Regions from separate parts of the Homo sapiens genome. Here all the other regions are linked to region 1. Evidence: promoter capture Hi-C in human tissues and cell types (Jung and others, 2019). All regions are on one chromosome and are shown on one strand. Each heading gives the region's core, a stretch centred on a gene start or on the middle of the fragment in contact. The rest is flanking DNA. Distances are from core to core; before and after follow the strand shown. Region 1 holds the start of OLFM3 (olfactomedin 3). Region 2 overlaps OLFM3 (olfactomedin 3). Region 3 overlaps OLFM3 (olfactomedin 3).

Evidence for each region. The method cuts DNA at HindIII sites, captures the fragments that hold promoters and counts their contacts. A contact is called where the count stands out against the background at its distance.
Region 2: a fragment that was not itself captured here is called in contact with the fragment with the promoter of OLFM3 in region 1 in 5 of the 25 tissues and cell types used here (H1 embryonic stem cells, dorsolateral prefrontal cortex, heart left ventricle and 2 more).
Region 3: a fragment that was not itself captured here is called in contact with the fragment with the promoter of OLFM3 in region 1 in 3 of the 25 tissues and cell types used here (H1 embryonic stem cells, hippocampus and mesenchymal stem cells).

Annotation. Positions count from the first base shown.
Region 1 is chr1:101,995,660-101,998,359 of GRCh38, reverse strand. It overlaps OLFM3 (olfactomedin 3), which reads left to right and starts at 1,434. Exons shown (of 6, transcript NM_058170.4): 1 at 1,434-1,612. The coding sequence starts at 1,544. The HindIII fragment of the contact is 3,886 bases long and covers 1-2,700 here.
Region 2 is chr1:101,845,554-101,848,320 of GRCh38, reverse strand. The region is part of intron 1 of OLFM3 (olfactomedin 3); the gene reads left to right. Among named protein-coding and RNA genes, the nearest start is that of OLFM3, 150 kb to the left of the region's middle. RefSeq lists an enhancer at 1,045-1,549. The HindIII fragment of the contact is 4,101 bases long and covers 1-2,767 here.
Region 3 is chr1:101,814,253-101,816,952 of GRCh38, reverse strand. The region is part of intron 4 of OLFM3 (olfactomedin 3); the gene reads left to right. Among named protein-coding and RNA genes, the nearest start is that of LINC01709, 180 kb to the right of the region's middle. The HindIII fragment of the contact is 4,181 bases long and covers 1-2,700 here.

The sequences.
Region 1 (2,700 bases), core at 185-2,684:
CTCAAGTAACTATACACACATTTATAATATTAGGATTAAAACAGATGCAATATGATGTAAATTCTTGGGGACAATAACTTTCAAATGCATTTGAGTCCTAATTGAGATTTCTTATATTAAAAAATAGGATATATTTTCAGTGAAAGGTTGATGGAGATTTCATACTCGGTATGTGTCTGATATCTCAATTCATTGTCTTTTAAATGTCGAAGTAAAAGGAAGCAATGTCCACAGACCCAGTCTATCTATATATTTTAACCCTTAGGAATTATAATTTCTAGAAAAATCAATAGAAGATGGAAATATTACAGGCATAATTGTACGAGAGGGATGTTTCAGGGTGGCTACCAACTTCTTCCTTTTTATATTATTGAGAACACTTTTTCCATATTCAAAGAAATGAAATTGCTCCAGTAAGGTTGAATGATGCAGGGTAAGAGAGTTTGCCATTTACCCTTTCTTTGCTCTTGTGAGGCAGCTATTCTGCCTTTTCTTGAGCCCTAGATTACAGAAGTGTTTGAAAGCTTAGAAATAAACACTCTTCCCATCCCGCTATCCATCTATCAGTGAATTCTTCTTCAAGTAAAAACACAAGTCAGACTGATAGAAAAACTATATTTCCAGGTATGGCTGTGCATATGGGGGGGATATTTCAGCTGGGGGGATCACTAATGGAATATACCATTTATAACTAAAAGAAGAATATAAGCCTCTTTATTTATTTATGCATAGTGTTTTTAGATGACCAAATCCCTAGATAGATAGATACACATTAATACCTAACCAAAACATATAACTTTAATAAGCTATTCATAAATGACTGCACATATCTATAAATTACCACATTCATCTATCAATAACAGCTGAAAATCGTGTGCCTTGGATGACACACACTGATAGTCTGCACTGCAAACTTTGTTTAAAGCACTAAATACAATATCAAGTCCTCTGTCAATGACAGCAGAAGGTTCTAGTGCACTATTTGTTTCATAATCCTGTATTTAGCTGACTCTTTACTTCTCTGCAGCTCAAGTTGCCGGCAAATGCTGAACTGGAGCACGAGAGTCAATCCTTGTTTGGTTAACAAATTCCCCGCAAAATATCCCCCCGAAACCCCCAGGAGCTGTAGTGATGTCATATCCGTTGTCCAGGTCTCCACACCTCTCTCAGCAGTTAATCCCTTTATCTATTCCTTGGGTCAAAACTTTTGAGGTGGGCTAGCTATATAGCAGCGGGGGAGAGGGTAAACTGGGGCGCGCGGGTTGGAGGCGCTTCAGCACCGCGGCCAGCGCCCACTGCAGCCCAACCCACTCTCTAGAGCTCCCGGACTCCTAGCTCTGAGAATGCCTGCGGAATGATCGCCCCCCAGGGCGGCTGCCGCCGCTGCCGCTGCTGCTGTTATTGCTACTGCTGCTGCCGCCGCCTCTGCTTCCACTCGGCTCTGACTGGCAGGCAGAAAGTGCAACTGACGAGGGAAAGGTCTCTGCAGTGAGTGGAGAGCCTACATAAAAGAGAGTAAAGAGGGGCAAAAACCCAGATCAGAATGCAGGCGACGTCCAACCTTCTCAACCTCCTGCTGCTGTCTTTGTTTGCCGGATTAGATCCTTCCAAGGTATGAACAATATTTTGAGTCTTGTTTGAAATAAATGTGCAATATGTAACAAACCTAACAGAAATGCAAATAAATATGTCAAAAACGGGACGAGAGACAGCTCTTTCAGCTACCTTATGGTGTCTGGCGTATCCCCACTGCTTGGAACATAACAAGGTGAACTACCGGAGGAATAGCTCCTCAAGGTAGAGTCCTACTGCGCGGGGGGAGGGACTAGGAGAAAATATAATGTGCATGGGCAGCGGGCAATGCGGCTCTCCGGGGAATTTAGCTTATTCCGTGTCCAACTGCTTAATGCTCTCTTTTGAAGTCGGACGGGTAATGCAAAGGAGTTTGCAGTAGAAACAATGCAATTTATAAACATGTATTAGGACATGGTGAACCGTTTCTTTGTTGAAAGCAGGGAAGCGTTTTCCAGCTGATCCTGGTCAATAATACTCCCATCGCAGACGTGCTGCGGTTTGTGTCCAAAACATTTGGGATGCTGCTTGTAAAACACATGGCAGAGCAGCAGAGCTATACTCTCTGCCATGGCTGAGAGGCGTTGGTGAAAGGAGCTTGTGTTTGTTTCTTCCTTTTCATTAAGAAAATTAGGGGGCACTGAGGAAGTTCTGATTATCAGTGTTAAGAAACAGGAAGTGAGAACCTTAACAAACTAAGGAGGGCAATAGGAAGGATGAGTTAACTCATAGACGTTGAACTCTGAAAATTATCTAGTACTGGCAATGAAAGTGAACGCTAAACTCCTTTGATAAAAAGACAGGAAAATATGGACAAATATTTTCAACGATGTCTGAGAAAAGTCTTGATGACAAAGTGAGATAATTTGAAAGCTTCAGCCTTCTAAGAAAATCATAATGACAGGGAATAAGAGATAAGCCACCTGGTGAAAAAGAGTAAGAGATACAATTTATTATTTTACTTATTTAACTGGCCAACAGCAATTTGACAATATAGGAAGAATGATTCCATGCTATAAAACTAATACAAGCTATATTTTGGAATATTATAAAGTTATTTTTAAAGCTTTACATCATGTGTGTAGTGTAGACAAATTAAGTTTCCTTTCATTACTGAATAGAACTAAG
Region 2 (2,767 bases), core at 184-2,683, 150 kb after region 1:
TGAAGATTCCAAATACAAACAAGTCCAGAATTCTCCTAAGAAATCAAAACAATACTTTTCCTTTTTGTAACCAATTTCTTTTCATTTAATTTTCATTCATCCATATTTTGTTTTGTGTCTTCTCTTTATATTTTTACTTTAAAACACATATATTGGATAAGACAAAGACCTCTGATTTCTTTCATTTGGAACCTGAGATTTGGATGTGGAAAATTTATAGTATTTATGAAAACAATATAATAAAGTTACCCATAAACCCTGGATTCTATATACCACACTTGCTAATGTAATCTAATAAACAGATCATTGAATTTGAGAGCTGGAAGGGACCTTGGAGAGCATATTTTCCAACATCCTTATATTGTAGAAAAAACTGAAGCCAAGGAATCTTGTCACCGGCCAGTCATATGGCTAACTAGAGGAGAACAAATACTAGATCCCAGACTTCCTGAGTCCAAGTCCTGTGCCCTTTATACTAAATCACATGTTCTCTCAAGATACAGACTTTCCATATCAGTCCGTCATTCCTCACAAACTGAAAATAGAGTTAACTGAGTTTCCTGTGTGACTGAACACCTACGAAGCAAAGCCTTCATTCTCAAAAGCAAAACTGGAAACACATATAAAATTTCTGTAACAGAAGTTTTTCTGCAAGGCTGTCTTTTCTCTTTTCTGTCTGTTCAGGTGTAAGATGCCTAAAGGTAATGTTTGCCACAAGCAGTAGCTATTAATCTTTGACTATATTTTTAAAGCAATGATGCTAATTTTAGGTTACTTTCTAAAAAAAAAAATTATCTCCTACTCTCAATATGATCATCTGGAAAATTATTTGCAGACTTTATTTTCATGTTCTTCCTAAAAGCACTCTGTCCTTGCCCAGAGAAATCTGTAGATATTAAGTTTGGTGTTTGAAATGTGCACTTTGGCAGACCTCCATTTAAAGGTGTATTTTTTTTTTTTAATGAAAGATAAAGAGTAGCTGATTATACTTACACAAACCCCAGAGGAAATGGATTCTGTTGATGGTAACTAACTAAAGTGGAGCTGGGAAAGCTCAAGTTTCCGCCTCCCTCCAACCTCTGCTCTCTGATAATTACCAACCAAGCCTATCAAGAATATTTTGTTTGATGATCCAGCAAAATGTCTGGTAAGGGAGGAAAAAGAAGGGCAGGGCACTTCCCACGAGGATGGGGGAAGGAGGTTCCGAAGCTTTCCTGGGTGATTAGAGCTGGGGAAGTTGATCTCTTTTCATGCTGTAGATGTGGCGCGCTGCAGTCACGCCTCCCGCTGCCAGCCCGGCACCGGGATCTTAATCAGTCACTATGAAAACTCATTAGCTCCACAGCAATGAGTCCTCCACTGCTGAAGCTTGGCGCTGTGCTTAGTACCATGGCAATGATCTCAAACTGGATGTCCCAAACTCTCCCATCCTTGGTGGGACTGAACACCACGAGGCTGTCGACTCCGGATACCTTAGTAAGTTACTGCGGTGGGTTTGGCCATCTTGAGAAGTAAGTGCATTTAGTGGGCTTTGTTTTGTAAATTGCAAAGGCTAAGATTTTGCTTCTGCCTTTACAGGTCAGCTTCAAAAATGTAGTAACTATGTGGTAACTTTCATCATATTTATTTATAAACACTTTATAGTTATACCCCAAAAATGGACTGCTTGAGAAATGAGCTATGAAAGAGAATACCAGAGTCATTAAATTCTTAAGGGTGAAAAGCTTTAACTATATTACTTGGAAGCTTGGGCAATTCTTAAAAATATATATATATATATGTTTTGTTTCTTATTCTTTTACTTATTTTAATATCTGTAAAAATCTTCATAATTTTTCCCACAAAGTAAGCTACAAAGTATATTCTGTCAAATCTAGTTCTGCTACAGCAGATTCTTCCTTGGAATGCAATGCCTGTGACTATTTGCAATGAATTCACTCAAAGAAACTAACATCTTTTAAGCATAAATGAATGAAAAAACTCGCCAATTTAAGGCCTGCCCAAAATTCCTTTAAGAAAGCTAAGAAACATGAGCAATAGAAAACTTACTTGATAAAAACATCTTCCTGTATTTTTAATATTTTATGAAGACTTCCTATCACAAGACTGTCTTGTATAATCTTCATTCATCTAAAATTAATGGCTTTTTAATCCTCCCTACTTTCTAACAAAGTATTTCCTGATAGTTTGAAGCAAGGTTCAGTGAGCAACATGTTTGATATTTCAAAGAAAAATGAAAACTATTGTTTTTTGAAATAGAAATTTACAAATTCAAATAAAAGGAATTTCTTAGAAAATAATTCCTCTGCCCTGAAATAAAAGGTACAGAAGCAAAACTAGGGGTTTTCACTTTCATGTGGGTTACTCCAGTGGATCAGAAAAAGTCAGATATGGAAAGAAAAGTAGCCCTCCATTTCCAAGTGTTATTTGCTGTTACTAATAATAATCTATCAACCAATGTTAATCAACTGAGTATAGTCTGACCAAAAAGTTAAATAATTTTCCAGATTCTCCCAGTGCTTAAGGCACCAGCAGAGCACATACAAGCCACACTTTGACCTGCTTTTACATTTTCATTTCCCTTAGGTTACTTATGGAACCCCAGAGCCTCCATTGCTGAGATCCTCTTCCCTACCTGCATGAAGTGGCCTGGCAGGAAGGATGTAAAAGAGATTTGGAGTTATAAAGAAAGCAAGAGATAGACATCAATAAACAATTACAAAACATAAACTTATATTATCTAATATTTACTGAGCCAATTTTTTTT
Region 3 (2,700 bases), core at 63-2,562, 180 kb after region 1:
TTCATTTGGCAAGATGAATTCTAGCTTAGGAAATCAATAACCATTTGTAAGGGAAGCATCTACTAAGAAGAAATCAACATCGAGAGCTCTGTCAGCTTTTTGCTTCCTGAGAATAAGGGTAGATGATGGTGATCATAAACATAACGCTGATGGTGTTTATTTGACCACAACCACAAATACCACCTTCTGTCCACCAGCATATACATGCTATTGATCCACTATCTATTCAATGTTCCCTTAGTTAAAATGAAAAAATGTCAAGCTTCAGAATTTTCATTTTATAGATGAGGAAATTCCACTCCAGAGAATAAGGCATTGTCCAACTTCATACAATGATTGAATGCTGTGGCCTAGATTTGAAACCAGGCTTCCTAACTCATGCCTCAGTGTTCAAACCTGGATGGAATATACCACTCTAAGAACATTTCCTGTGAAATTGATGGGAGTAAAAACAGACAGACACTCACACACAAAAATTATAAAAGGAAAGATAGGCACATGATTACTCATGGTTACTAAACAGATTAAACTACCATCTGCTCATGGGATTCATTTATTTAATTATTGTCTTTCACAACATCAGCGTATTGCTCCCTACTAGATTATTTTTATAAACAAACCTTTCTTAACCATCATCAGCACAACAATAAAAACTTCCTGTAATCTCATATTTTCCTACTCCTGTCTCCCTGCTTCTTTTCCCTTGAAAGAATCTTTTATAGCTGCTACTTTGGTTACGTTCTTTTCAAACCAACTTCGATTCATTTTCTGGGATCACCACACTTTTTCTGAGTTTTGTAATCAGCAGTGACTCTTGCTGCCAAATTTTATGGTTATTTCTTTGATCTTATGCTGCTAGACATCTTAGTGGTGTTTTTCACAGGTCAGTACTATATCCTTCTTAAAACACTTTCTTCTTTTGGATTTCTTAATACCACGTTATTTTTTCTATCCAACTTATAGCTTATTCTTGGGCTTCTTTGATGAGTCTTATAAATATTGTGATTTACAGAGTTCTGTGCTAGATACCTTTCTCTTTTCTGTGTATGCCTTCCCTCTGAGGCAATATGTAGCCCCTGGCTTTCACTGTCATCATTATGCTAAAAACCATCAAAACTGTTTTGTCAAAACTCAAAGGAGTATCTGTTCCCTAGATTTATATGCTGTTTCTACTGATACGTGTAATAGTCATGAACAACTTAGAATTATCCCTGTTGGATTCTTTATTTTTGCTCCCAAACCCATTCCTCCCTCAGTCATTTCATCCGAGTAAATGACACTACAATCTGTCTAGCTGGACAAGCCAAAAATCTAGATGTTATCTTTGATTATTTTTTTTTGAGTTTTTAAATTCCCTTTCCTCACATCTAATCCAAAGCCTAGTCCTATCCACTTTATTCTAAAAACATACCCCAAGTCCATCTACTTTTCTCCATCTCCACAACTGCTTCCATCATCTTTCACCTAAATCAGCCTGATAACCTTTTTTTTTTTTTTTCTTTTTTTGAGACGGAGTCTTGTTCTGTCACCCAGGCTGGAATGCAGTGGCGCGATCTCGGCTCACTGCAAGTTCCACCTCCCGGGTTCATGCCATTGTCCTGCCTTAGTTTCCTGAGTAGCTGGGACTACAGGTGCCCGCCACTACGCCCGGCTATTTTTTTTGTATTTTTAATAAAGACGGGGTTTCACCGTGTTAGCCAGGATGGTCTCGATCTCCTGACCTTGTGATCCGCCCACCTCAGCCTCCCAAAACTGATAACCTTTTAATGAGACTGTTTACACTCTATCCACTCTACAATTAATATTCTATACAGTAGCTAGAGAGATCTTTCTAAGGTGCAGCTTACATTCTGTCATTCCCCTCCCCCTTTAAAATAATCCAATGACTTTCGATCATTCGTAGAATAAAATCCAAATCTTGTCTTCACAAAGTTTACAAACAATGTGGACTACTGGACTACTCATCTCTCCAATCTCGTCTTCTTCTGTTCCAAGTGTATTCTAAATACATTGATCTTCTTTCTGTTTATTTGCTCCTCTTAATTCATCAAGCGTATTAAGGCCTTTGCAATAACAATAATAATAGCTATTATTTCTTAAGTACTTAACTATGTACCAAGCACTATTTTAAACATGTAGCCATATTTTTTATTTAATCTTCTCAATAACACTTTGATACGATATTATTTCTATTGTTACCCATGAAACACTGAGAGGTTAGAAAATTGTTCAAGGTCTCCAGCGAATAAGGGATAAAATCAGGATTCAAATCCAGGCCGACTCTTTAACCCATGTCCCCAACCACTTTAAGATGCTGCCTTCCCCTAGCTATTCTCTAAATGGCTAAATCCACTAAACAACTGCTCCAGTAAATAAACTAAATGCCTAAATGTCCTTCTCTTGTCAATAAGATCTCAAATTAAATGTCACACACTGAGAGGTCTTCCTTACCCTCCCAATATCAAGTAGCTCCCCAGTCACTCTTTATAAAATTGCCCTACTTAAATCTTGGCATTAAATTTATTTCTGTATGATATGTTTAGTTTGTTTGTTTATTTGTTTTTTAATTTATTCTTTCTGTCTTCTCACCAAAATGTAAGCTTCACCAGAACAGAGGTGTCATGCTTTCTCATTATTGTTAACTCTAGTATCTGGAACAGTGCTTTCTGCTAAAAAAAAAAAAAAACCTTAGCTGGGTGA